Regions from separate parts of the Homo sapiens genome. Here all the other regions are linked to region 3. Evidence: promoter capture Hi-C in 16 types of primary human blood cells and fetal thymus (Javierre and others, 2016). All regions are on one chromosome and are shown on one strand. Each heading gives the region's core, a stretch centred on a gene start or on the middle of the fragment in contact. The rest is flanking DNA. Distances are from core to core; before and after follow the strand shown.

Evidence for each region. Contacts are between HindIII fragments. The CHiCAGO score rates a contact against its expected background, and 5 or more counts as called.
Region 1: a fragment that was not itself captured here is called in contact with the fragment with the promoter of ALG12 in region 3 in 17 of 17 cell types (naive CD4 T cells, activated CD4 T cells, M0 macrophages and 14 more); the score reaches 13.7 in naive CD4 T cells.
Region 2: a fragment that was not itself captured here is called in contact with the fragment with the promoter of ALG12 in region 3 in 6 of 17 cell types (total CD4 T cells, naive CD4 T cells, non-activated CD4 T cells and 3 more); the score reaches 7.8 in total CD4 T cells.

Annotation. Positions count from the first base shown.
Region 1 is chr22:50,014,638-50,018,630 of GRCh38, reverse strand. It overlaps TTLL8 (tubulin tyrosine ligase like 8), which reads left to right. Exons shown (of 14, transcript NM_001350317.3): 14 at 1-56. Among named protein-coding and RNA genes, the nearest start is that of IL17REL, 3.9 kb to the right of the region's middle. RefSeq lists an enhancer at 1,271-1,330. The HindIII fragment of the contact is 6,527 bases long and covers 1-3,993 here.
Region 2 is chr22:49,814,289-49,818,177 of GRCh38, reverse strand. The region is part of intron 2 of BRD1 (bromodomain containing 1); the gene reads left to right. It also overlaps the pseudogene LOC100420885. Among named protein-coding and RNA genes, the nearest start is that of BRD1, 12 kb to the left of the region's middle. RefSeq lists enhancers at 1,673-2,215, 2,216-2,759. The HindIII fragment of the contact is 7,778 bases long and covers 1-3,889 here.
Region 3 is chr22:49,916,062-49,919,785 of GRCh38, reverse strand. ALG12 (ALG12 alpha-1,6-mannosyltransferase) reads left to right here and starts at 1,348. Exons shown (of 10, transcript NM_024105.4): 1 at 1,348-1,523. CRELD2 (CRELD disulfide isomerase 2) reads right to left here and starts at 1,152. Exons shown (of 10, transcript NM_024324.5): 1 at 888-1,152; 2 at 474-556; 3 at 1-56. The coding sequence starts at 1,016. RefSeq lists silencers at 949-1,448, 1,559-1,758. The HindIII fragment of the contact is 6,188 bases long and covers 1-3,724 here.

The sequences.
Region 1 (3,993 bases), core at 719-3,218, 98 kb before region 3:
CCAGCTTTTGAGTGTTCAGTTTGATTTTTACTTATTCAACCTGGAATTTGAATGTCTTTGATGTGTGCGCTGGTGTCATTATTCAATTATGGGACTCTCTCAGCCATTATGTCTTTAAATATTGCCTCCACCCCGTTCTGTCTCTTTCCCTTTGGAATACAAACTAAATGTTTGCTAAGCCTTCTCTCTCTCCCGGTATCTTTTAGTCTCCCACTTCTTTGTTTGATTTATTTAGCTGCCTGTGCTGCATTCTAAAAATATCTCCTCGCCTGTCTTCCAGCTCATTTCAGAATGCTATCAACCCATTGAAGTTTTAATTTCTTAAAGTTTTCATTTTTAGAAGTTCTACTTTTTAATAAAATTATTTGATCTTTTTTCTTTCTTTTTTTTTTTTTCTGAGACAGGATCTCACTCTGTCACCCAGGCTGGAGTGCAGTGGTGCAGTCACAGCCTCCAACTGCAGCCTCCAACTCTCAGGCTCAAGCGATCCTCCTACTTCAGCCTCCTGAGTAGCTGGGACCACAGGTGTGCACCATACCCTGCTGTTTTTGATTCACCCTTGCACCCAGCTGTTTGGGGCTGCATATTGTTGGGGGCATGGGGTGTCTTCTGTCCCCACACTCCAGGGCCTTGGGACCCAGAGCTCCAGGTGGCCCTGGTGGCAAAGTCTCAGAGGGAGGAGCTTCGGGGCCGGGCACCTTTCAGAGCGCCCTCTCCTTGGGCTCACTCACCTTCCCTGGCCTGGACCTGGTCCTCCTTTACCGTCTTGCCTGCTGCTTTTGCTTGTTTTTGTGATGCTTTTCCTATCTTATGCCCTTATTTGGTGGTTTTCCCTGGAAGGGCTGGTCTGGGTCCCAGACTCCCAGGTACTGAGTGCACCCCATGGGCTTTAGTGGCTCCCCGGAGCCTGCTGACACCCCACAATGAGTCTCACCCCAGCCCTGGCCTCCATACAGGGTTGGGGCCCAGGCCTTGGGCCTCCCCTCCCTCAGCAGGGTCCAGGCCCCACACCAGCTGCTCGGTTAGCTCATGCATGCTCCATTAATCACGCACAGACACACGGAGAGCCGCAGACACCACGTCCCCTCCTCCTTCACTTAGGGTGGGCCCAGCCTCTGCCCCGACTTACTGGACACACACTTTCTGGGCACCCCGGTGGGTCCCATCAGGCCCTGGGTGCCTGGGGGACAAGGCCCTGCCCCGCAGTGCTACCTGGCCTGCTGCGCTGGGCCACCCTGGCAGATTTGACCTCCCAGTCCTGTGCCCGGCCTCCGTGCGTCTCTCCGCTGGGATGAGAGCCCTGGGGAGTGGGAGCTGTTCCCACCTCGTTCTTCCTGCTGCTCATGCCCTGCTTGTGCCACGTGGGCCCTGGCCTGTCCTATGGGCCAAGCTGGCCCAGCCCTTCCGAGGTTCCCGGAAGCCAAGGACTGCTTTGCATAGGCACTGGGGGCTCTCCCCACCCAGCCCCCCAGGAAGAGTGACTCAGCCTGGGGCTCGGAGTTTGCCGTGGGCGGTGGGTGCCCCAGCAGGGTGGTGCCTGCACTTCTGGGCTGGGCTGTGGCTGCTTGGGAACCTACAGCCCTGGCGGCTAGGAAAACCAGGGAGTCCCCTCTTCACCCCACATCCCTACCCCACCCTGGGGCTCCTTCTGTCCCTCCCCCACCAGCTATAGCTGCAGCAAGTGTGCAGGCTGGCCTTCCCCTAGTCCTTCCTGGCCTGGGCAACCTGAAGTTTGACTCACCAGCCCCAGTACATGGGGGACGGGGCTTGGCACAGGCTCACCCCACTGAGAAGGGCTGGCCAGGGACCCGGGACAGCCCCAGGGCAAGGACAGCGGTTGGAGGCCAGTGAGAGCCAGGCCAAGGCCCCAGCCTCTCGGATGAAAGGGACACATGGTGGTCACACCTGCCAGCCTTGCCTATCCTGTGACGCTCCGAGGAACTGCGTGAAAGTTCTCAAAACGCAGCAGCTCCCATGCAGGGGGTGGCCTTGCTGAGTGGCCAGCCCTGCGGTGGACGGCAGCTACCTGCTCTCACCCATCACGGCTGCCACCTTTGAGTCCATGCAGGAGAGGGCACGGTCTGCAGCCGCCTGCCACACCACGGGCACCACGTGGCCGCCTGCCAGACCACGGGCACCACGTGGGATGGTGGGCCTGGGGTGTGCTTCCTCCGGCAGCTCCTGGCATCAGAACTGCCCATGGGCCCTGGTGAGGTCTGACCACAGGTTGTGGGTAGCAGGTCTTCTAGCTCCACCAGGAGCCCCAGCCCAGGCCCACTTCGAAGGTGCCAGTGTGTCCAGATGGCCTGCACTGGGTGCAGCCTCTTGTGGGGACTCGGTGGCTCCTGGAGCACCCCCAGTCTTAACACTCCCACCTCCCTCCTGACCCCTCCAGCTGCTGACCCATCCTGGGACTCTGTGGCTGGCCCAGCATGCTGCTGGCCCTCGCCTGCAGGCACCGTCCTGAACCCACCACCCACTTGGTCCTGGCCCAGTGGGGATGGGTCCTCAGCACCAGGCATCTGAACCTGAGCCCAGGCACAGCAGGGCAGGACGAGTTGGGGTGGGGGCTGCTCTTCTCCAAATCTCCTGGCCGGTTGGGTCCTTCTAGGCAGGACTCACCTGGAGGAGGGCTGAGAGAGGCTGACAAGCTAGAGGCAGAGCTGGACTGCCCCTCTGGGGTGGGGGGCCAGGTGGAGGGGCGTTAGGGAGGGTGAGGGGGGTGGGGAAGGGGACCTCCCATCCGCAGAGCCTTCATCCCAGAGGGACGACACCCTACCCCCGCCCCCCTGCGTTTGAGTGGAGGTCTTGGTTTTCCGAAAGCTGGGGGAAGCAGGTGGGCTCCATGCAGGAGCGAGTTGGGAGCCACCTGGGGCTGGTCTTGCAGGTGATAAGGGTGACCCTGGGGGGCCTGCCTGGGGGCGTGGCCTTGAGGGGCGCGGGCGTCGCCTGTTGGTGGGTGTGGATTGAGGGACGGGTGGGTGCGGTCCGGGGACCTGGGGTCGAGGTCAAGGGGCGCTAGGCACAGTCAGGGGGCCTGGGGCGCGGTCGGGGGTGGGCTGGGGTAGGAGAGGACAGGGGCGAGGTTTCAGGGATCTGTGGGCTCAGGGTCTGTGGACGCAGTCCAGGGTTCCCGGGGGGTGTGGGAAGGTCAGTGGGCTGGAGGAGCGGTGGCGGGGGGCGGGGTGGGCGGGGCCCGGGGACGCGACTGCAGGTGGAGGAAGGCGCTGTAGGGGGTGGGGAGTCCCGGGGCGCGCCGGGGCGGGCGAGTGCTGTCGGGGTGGAGGGAGGCGCGGCCGGGGAATGTGGGGCCGGCGCACGCGGTCTCAGCGCCCCTCCCTCCCCAGGGCTGCCGAGGGACCCCCGAGCGCCGCCCTGCCTCGTGTGCCGCGGGCTGCTGCCACCCGCCGGGCCCTGCAAGCGCTGCCGCTCGTTCTGCGCCGCGGTCCTGCAGGGCGCGTCCTTCGTGCGGCTCGGCGGGCGGAGCTGCAGCCCGCGGACCCCGTGAGTCGGGACCGGCGCGGGGACCAGGACGACGACCCGGAGCCACGCGCGTCTCCGTGGAAACCTGCGCGGAGCTGAGGCCGAGAACACAGCGCTGTTGTGGTGAACCCGCGTCCTCGCCGTGGTTTTCTTGGGAACCTCGTGCCCAGCACCCCCGCACCCGCTCCGGACCCTCCGAGCCGCTCTGGGGAAGGCTCCAGCCCGGGTCCCGGGCGGACGCTGGTTCGTTCCTTCCCGCGTTCGTCCGACGAGTCTCGGCGCCGCCCAGGGTCTCCGCACCCCGTTTCCTCCCATCTGGTGCCCAGCGCGGGCGCGGAGGGAGCCCCCGGGGTTGGACCCTCAGATCCCTTCACCGTTGGGCTTCTGGGCGACCGATGGTCACTGGGCTGTGTGGCCGTGCTGCCCTGGAGACCCAGACTTGGAAAGACCCCACCCCCACCCCAGGCCTCGCCCAGCTGCGGTGGGTGATCTCGGTGGCCGGGGCCCGCC
Region 2 (3,889 bases), core at 376-2,875, 100 kb after region 3:
GGTTTTCCTCCCGCCTTCACCCTGATAGGGTGCTCCTCCCGCCTTCACTGGTGTCATTTTATTTTGAGTTTAAAAGGATGAACTGGTCTTGGTCAGCCTTAGGAAGGGAAGCATCACTCAGGTGAAAATACGTGGCGAACTTTAAATACCTAGATATTCTCCTCATGCATTTAAATTAGAGTGACTTGAGCTGTTAGAAAAGTTGACTGGGTGCGGTGGCTCAGGCTAGTAATCCTAACACTGGAAGGCTGAGGTGGGTGGATTGCTTGAGCCCAGGAGGTCGAGGCTGCAGTGAGTTGTGATCGCACCTTTGTATTCCAGCCTGGGTGACAGAGTGAGACCCTGTCTCTAAGGGGTTTTGCATGGTTATCCAGAGCAGTCTCTTGAATTTTGGTTGTCTTTGACGCAGCTGCATCTGGAGATCCTCTATGTGAGGCATGTTTAGAGAAAGAGAAACATTGACCCCTGGAATTGATATTCTTCCAAGAAATCTTTTAGTCTTGTTGGTAAAGGCAGTCCTCAGATGGTACCGGTCCCTTTGTTAGTGGTGAGCCTACAGAGATGGTGCCTGGTGTGCAGAGCGATGTGGTTGGATGGAGGTGAACAGAGCAGTCTAGGGCCCCTGGGCCGCCTGCTGGTCCTAGCCCATCACAGCACAGTCATTCAGCAGACATGCTGCACCAGCTGATTGTTTGAGCTTGGGCTTGGTGCACATGATGGAGTTTGTCTGGATCTCCTGTCTTGGTATTCCATAGGAAGATGAGTTGGTCCAGCCCATGTCCTAATAGATGTTGTTAGCAGGAAGTCTGAACTTGAACTATCTCACATGAAGAAAGTTCCTTCTGCTGCCTCTTTTTATTTCTCTTTGGCTTCATGAACAGTCATGCACCCCCAGTGCCATCCTTTTGAGCTCCCCAAGGCCTCTGCCAGACACATCACCTCCAGGGGTGACTCCTTGACCCACCGTGCCATCACCACTGGCTCTGCACCCCTTCTGAGCCATTCCTGGAGCTTGAGGCACTGTGAGGTCAGGGGAAAAGGGTCAGCGTGGCAAGGAGAGATGGTCACCCAAGCTGGGGTCATAGAGCAGCTTATGGATTTCCTGGAAGTCAGTGGGAACTCATTTGGGAACCCCCAAAATGAGTCCCTGTGGGGTGTCTGAAATGGTGGCAGAAGGGGCAGGAATGGGGTCCGGCAGTTCTCTTCCCTCAGGTCCTGGCGGATGGATAGCAAAGTCCTGTGTAGACAAGGTCACCCACAGGTGGTATATGCCGGCTGCTAAGGGCCTTGGGTGGCGGGCCTTGGCCCCCGCAGTCCAGAGAGTGTCTGTTTACTATTCCCTGCAGGGTAGGCACCTTGGGCCCCAGAATTCGGAAGGCACTTTTTTCCTACCTGGACTCACTTCCTGCAGTGTTGGAGGCCACCTGGCCCTAGTCTATTTTATAGAGACAGGGTCTCACTATGTTGTCCAGGCTGATCTTGAATTCCTGGGCTTAAGCAATCCTCCTGCCTAGGCCTCCCAAAGTGTTGAGATTACAGGTGTGAGCCACCTCGCCCAGCCCCAGCCTTAGTCTGTAGTCTAATGCTGGAGGGTAGTATGTTGACTCTGGAATAAAGATGTCACTATTCTGGAACTTTTTCTGGGGTCACTGTCGGGAGGCGTTGTCTCCCTTGAGCACTTGCTGCAGCCCCAGGCTGTTGACCTGCACAGCCGTCCTCAGAGGGTGGGGAAGCTGTTCTGTCTTGGGGGCGTTGAGTCCACTAGGTAGGCCCTGTGAGGATCCCAGCTGTCACCTAGTGGGTACCTGCAGAGGTTTTGTTTTGTTCTTTTAATTGAGGCGGGGTCTTGCTCTGTTGCCCAGGCAGGAGTGAAGTGGCGCAATCCTAGGTCACTGCATCCTTGAACTCCTGGGCCCAAGTGGTCCTCAGCCTCCCAAAGTGCTAGGGTTACGGATTAGAGCCACCGGCCGCGGCCCCCTTTGGCTTGTGTTTTTAAGTCTTTTTTTCCTCCATGTTTCTGGCTGTTAATTTTTTATAAAAGTTTGTATCTGGCATGGATTGAAGCAGGAGACACTGGCTCAGTGCCCAGTGGGGAGAGCCCTGTGTGGGTACCTCCCGGGCGGTGTGGGTGCATGAGTTGGCTGCTGCGGGTGGCACCGGGAGGCCCTGTGTGGGTGCCTCCCGGGCAGTGTGGGTGCATGAGTTGGCTGCTGCGGGTGGCACTGGGAGGCATGGCAGGGGCCATGAGGCCACAGGTGGCAGCTCCCTGTGCTTGACCTGCATCGGGTCTGGAGTGGCGGGCACTCGGGAAGGAAGCGCCAGGACGACACATTGGAAGGAGGAGCTGCAGGGCAGGTCCAGCCAGTGCCTGGGAGCTCGGGAGGGCACCTGGGTGGACGCAGCCTGCAGGAGCGCCTGCTCTCCTGTATGAGGAACAGACCTGAATGCCGTTTCAGACACTGACTCATTCCTGCCCTCCTGTGACTTTGTTGGTTTTCTGGGTTTTAGTGCAGATTGTAGCTGGCAGCTCACAACAGAGCCCTTCCTGGTGCAGGCTGACAGGCAGGAGGGATTCTCCTCTACAGAAATGGACATTACTATATCTGGAAACAGTTTTTTTTTTTTTCTTCTTTTTGAGATGGAGTCTTGCTGTGTCGCCCAGGCTGGAGTGCAGTGGCGTGATCTACGCTCACTGCAACCTCTGCCCCCTGGGTTCAAGCGATTCTCCTGCCTCAGCCTCCCGAATAGCCGGAATTACAGGTGCACGTCACCACGCCCAACTAATTTTTGTGTTTTTAGTGGAGATGGGGTTTCGTCACGTTGGCCAGGCTGGTCTCGAACTCCTGACTGACCTAAGGTAATCCGCCTGCCTTAGCCTCCCAAAGTGTTGGGATTACAGGCATAAGCCACTGTGCCTGGCCTAGATTTGTTTTAATTGAAAAAGCTGAAGCAAATAAAAATTGTGCTGGGGAAAACTCTGAGTGCTCAGAGCATGGGCTGCGTTTCTCACTGGCCTCACCGCACCTTCCTCTGCACTCAGACTCTCCTAAAGATGCTGGCATTTACTGAACTAAAGGTAGCATTTCGCAGAGCAGGGCCGTGGGCCATGAACCACAGTCATCTGGCCATTTAGACAGCTCTGCCCTGCCCCCGGCGACTTGGGTACCCAACCATGTCATTCCCACCCCTAGCTTTGTGGGGCAACGTTCCTCTAGGCCGGGTTCTCTTCCCTGAAGCACCCCAGGCATGTAGAAGATGTTCTCAGCAGAGGGGAGACACCACAGTGTAGCTGATTTCTGTCTCTCTTCACTTTCACCATATTTACTTACTTTTGGTAGAAGTGGGGTTGAAAATTTATGTGAAGTTTTCTTTACTACTGGGGACAGCGGGGCAGATTACTGCCACACATAATCACCTCTGCTCCAGCCTAGGTGCTACCTGCTGGAGGCGATGGTGGCTTTCCTGAGAGCACCTCCTGGGCTCGGGCTGGTGGGGAGCTTGATTTTACCTTTTTATGTGGAAATAACTTCAAATTTACAAAATATTCACAAAAATAAAGAGAGCAGGGACTACCCAGGTGCTCTACATAGAGTTGCCTGTTGCTGGGGCTGCGTCCTCTTTTGCACACCCTGCCCCGTCGGAGAGGATCCCAGATGTGGCCCTTGCCCATGCACGTCAGGCATGTGAAAAGAGCAGGTGTCCCCTGGCGATGGGCAGCAGGCTTTGTGGTGCCCCAGCCTTGGTGCAGGAGTCCCCTGAGGTGAGATTCAGGGCTCTGGCCGGCTGGTCTCATGTGTTTCCTGAGCGATGGATGTGGGCACGGCGTCCTCCACCTCGCACCACCTGGCATGGGGTCTGCGTGTGTGTCATGCCAGGGTTCTGGGCCTGC
Region 3 (3,724 bases), core at 99-2,598:
ATTCGAAGTCGCTGCTCTCGCACAGCCCCTCCAGGATCTCCAGCAGGCGAATCTCGCTGAAACACAGGCCCACACCGGCCCACCGTCAGCGCCTCCAAGGCAGTGAAGAAAAATCCGAACCAATACGCCAACCTGGGTGCAGGGGCCGGGGAGCCAGGACTCCGGGCACAGAGAATAAGGGGACCCCACTGTCAGGGGAAGCCAGGAGCGGTTCCCACAAGTGGGGCTGGTGTTCCAGTTTACATTTTGAAAAGCCACTGTCTGTTGAGGGGGTAGGGACCAGAGCAGAAGCTGGAAGGCCAGAGAGGGGCCAGCCATTAGTCCTCAGGGAGAAGCCGAGGTGACTCGGACGGGTGACTGGTGCCTCGGGGGCTGTTCTGTCTCCCTGTCATTAACACAGGCACCAAAGGCAGGACACGACTTCCCAGGACAGCGCCAGGCCAAGACCCACAGGGGTGCTCCAGGGCACCCACCTGGACTCGTACTTGGACAGCGTCTTTTCCTCCCAAGCCGTGTTCCCGCCGCCAAAGTTCTTCTTTGCGGTGTCCACCATCCCCTGCGAGGAGACAGTGCCCATAGTGCTTGGTACCACCTGACCCGGGTCCAGGGTGGGGGCGAGCCCAGGTCGAGGGTGAGGGGACTCCAGGCCCACGGTGGCGTCGACCCTGGTTCCACGGTGGGGGTGGATCCGGGTCAAGGGTGAGGGGGACTCCAGGACCACGGTGGAGGGACTCTGGATCGACGGTGAGGGGGATCCCGAATCCAGGGTGAGGGGGACCCCGGATCCAGGGTGAGGGCGACCCTGGGCCCAAGGTGGGGCGACCCCGGATGCAGGGTGAGGGGGACCCCGGGCCCAAGGTTGACGACCCCGCCCGGCCCCTTCCCACCTGGTTAAACTTGTCCACCAGCCCCCGGCACCGGTGGCAGGGCGTCGGCTTCTTGGCGGCCTCCGGCGCGGGCGGCAGCAGCAGCAGAAGCGGCAGGAGCCCCAGCGCGGCCCGGCGCGGCAGGCGCATGGCGGGTAGCGCTGCGGGAAGACGCAGCCGGAGCTCCAGGTCCTGCGGCCGTGCTGCTCCGGCCTCCCGGCCGCCCACCCGCTCCCAGCCGCGCCGGCCTGTCCCCCAGGCTACTTGACGGCGCCGGCGAGGCCCCGCCCCACCCGCCAGCCCCGCGCCGCTATTGGTTGATGGGACCCGCCCCGGCCTGATATGGCCCAATCCGAGTTCGCCACGAGAGGTGACCAATGGGAAGGCCCCGGATCAGCGGCCGCCAGGAGTCCGGGGGCGGGGCGTGCAGGTCCGACCCCGCCTCCCGCTCCCCGCCCCTCGCGCGCAGCCCGCGGCGGCCATCTTTACTCAGGGCACAGAGGGTCTCTGCGGCCGTAGCGGCCGGGGCTGCGGTAGCCACTTTAGATTTGGGCAAGGACTTTAGATTCGGGCTCTGTTCTGTTTCCGCCGTCCTGCTTCCTGCCGAGGCTGGCCCAGGCAGCCGCGCTTCGAAGGACGCCGCCGGGAGCTGCGGAGGTCAGTGCGCGCTGCCGCGACCGGGGCCTTCAGGCGGGCGCGCGGCGAGACCAGGGAGGAGGCGGGCGAGGGCGCGACCCGAGCTGGCGCTGGCGCTGGATTCCTGAGGCCTCACCGCGCATGTCCACGCGTCACAGCCCCGTGCTCCTTACCTGGGGCTGCACCCCTCACTTGGGGCCGGGCTCCTCACCTGGGGCTGGACCTGTCACCTGGGGGCCAGACCTCTCACCCGGGGGCCGGACCTCTCATCCGGGGGCCCGACCTCTCACCTGGGGCTGGACCTCTCACCTGGGGCCGGGCTCCTCACCTGGGGCCGGACCTCCCACCTGGGGGATGGGTTTTTCACCTGGGGGCTGGGGATCTGGGGTCCACTTAGGGTCTCTGGGGGCTGGGGATCTGCATTTCTACAGGCGCTTGAGGTGATGAACACTCGCTCATGTTCAGGAACCCCTGGTTTAAATTAGGGGAAATAAAACGTGCAGCGTCTGGATTTCAGAGAACTCCTGCCTGTGGAAGGAAGGAGTGCAGATAACACTGCACATTTAAAAAAAAAAAAAGTAACATCTGATTTGACCAGTTTCTTTTCTGTTTTTTTGAGACGGAGTCTCACTTTGTCGCCCAGGCTGGAGTGCAGTGGCGCGATCTCAGCTCACTGCAAGCTCCGCCTTCCAGGTTCCTGTGATTCTGCTGCCTCAGCCTCCTAAGTTGGGATTACAGGCACCCACCACCAGGTCCGGCTAATTTTTGTATTTTTAGTAGAGACGGGGTTTCACCATGTTGGCCAGGCTGGTCTCGAAGTCCTGACCTCAAGCGATCTGCCTGCCTCAGCCTCCCAAAGTGCTAGGGTTACAGGCGTGAGCCACCATGCTTAGCCTGATTTGATCAATTTCGGTAGAGGCCTTAAAATCTGGATTGATGGGGACAAGAGGGTCTTTGCAGGTCATTCCCTAATCTGAGATGCCATTGTTCTGTAAACCACCATTTTAAAGTGTCATGGCCTGGGCCCGTTTTAACCTGTGGGTGCTCTCGAAGCACCCGTCACTTAGATTAGCCACAGCTGCTGCCCAGCTGCCCAGCAGAGTGGGCTAGTGCAGGACAGTGTCCGTTCACCCTCGCCTGGTGGGGGGTTCGTCGTGGTTTTCGTGCTTGCTGGTGTTGACTTGGTCTTCCCGTGCTCCTGGCAGAGAATCCAGACTCACCCTTGGTCTTCTCATGCCCTCGAAAGTGAGCTGTGCTGGTCATCAGCAGAAGGCACACCTTGTTGGGTCCGAGGAGGTGCTGGGGGCCCGCCAGGAGTGTCAGAGTCAGCACGTAATGTTTTCACCCCACAGCTGAACTCTTCCTTGCTGGGGAACTCCCCTGGGTGGAGAGGTGTGGAGTGGGGTTGTGGGGGACTGCCAAGCAGCACTTGCTGTGTGCACCTCCCACATCTTGGCACGTAGATGCTCCCCGTTCCGTTTTATTTTTTATTTTTGTAGAAATGGGGTCTCATGATGTAGCCCAAGTTGGTCTTGAACTCCGGGCCTCAAGCAGTACCCCCCATGTCAGCTTCCTGAGTAGCTGGGATTATTTTTGTGGAGATGGGGTCTGGCTCTGTAGCCCAGGTTGGTCTTGAACTCCTGAGTAGCTGGAATTACAGGCGTGAGCCAACACATCCGGCTTGCTTCCTATTTCTTTTTTTTTGAGACGGAGTCTGGCTCTGTTGTCCAGGCTGGAGTACAGTGGTGCGATCTTGGCTTGCTGCAACCTCTGCCTCCCGAGTTCAAGCAATTCTCCTCCTCTGCCTTCCAAGTAGTTGGGATTACAGGCGCACACCACCATGCCCAGCTAATTTTTGTATTTTTAGTAGAGATGAGGTTTCACCATGCTGGCTAGGCTGGTCTTGAATTCCTGACCTTGTGATCCACCCACCTCAGCCTCCCAAAGTGCTGGGATTACAGGCATGAGCCACCACGCCCGGCCGTTGGAACATATTTTTATTTAATTTAATTAATTTATTTATTTATTTTTGAGATGGAGTCTTGCTCTGTCGCCCAGGCAGGAGTGCAGTGGCGCGATCTCGGCTCACTGCAAGCTCCACCTCCTGGGTTCACACCATTCTCCTGCCTCAGCCTCCCAAGTAGCTGGGACTACTCGCCACCACTCCAGCTAATTTTTTTGTATTTTTAGTAGAGACGGGGTTTTACCATGTTGGCCAAGCT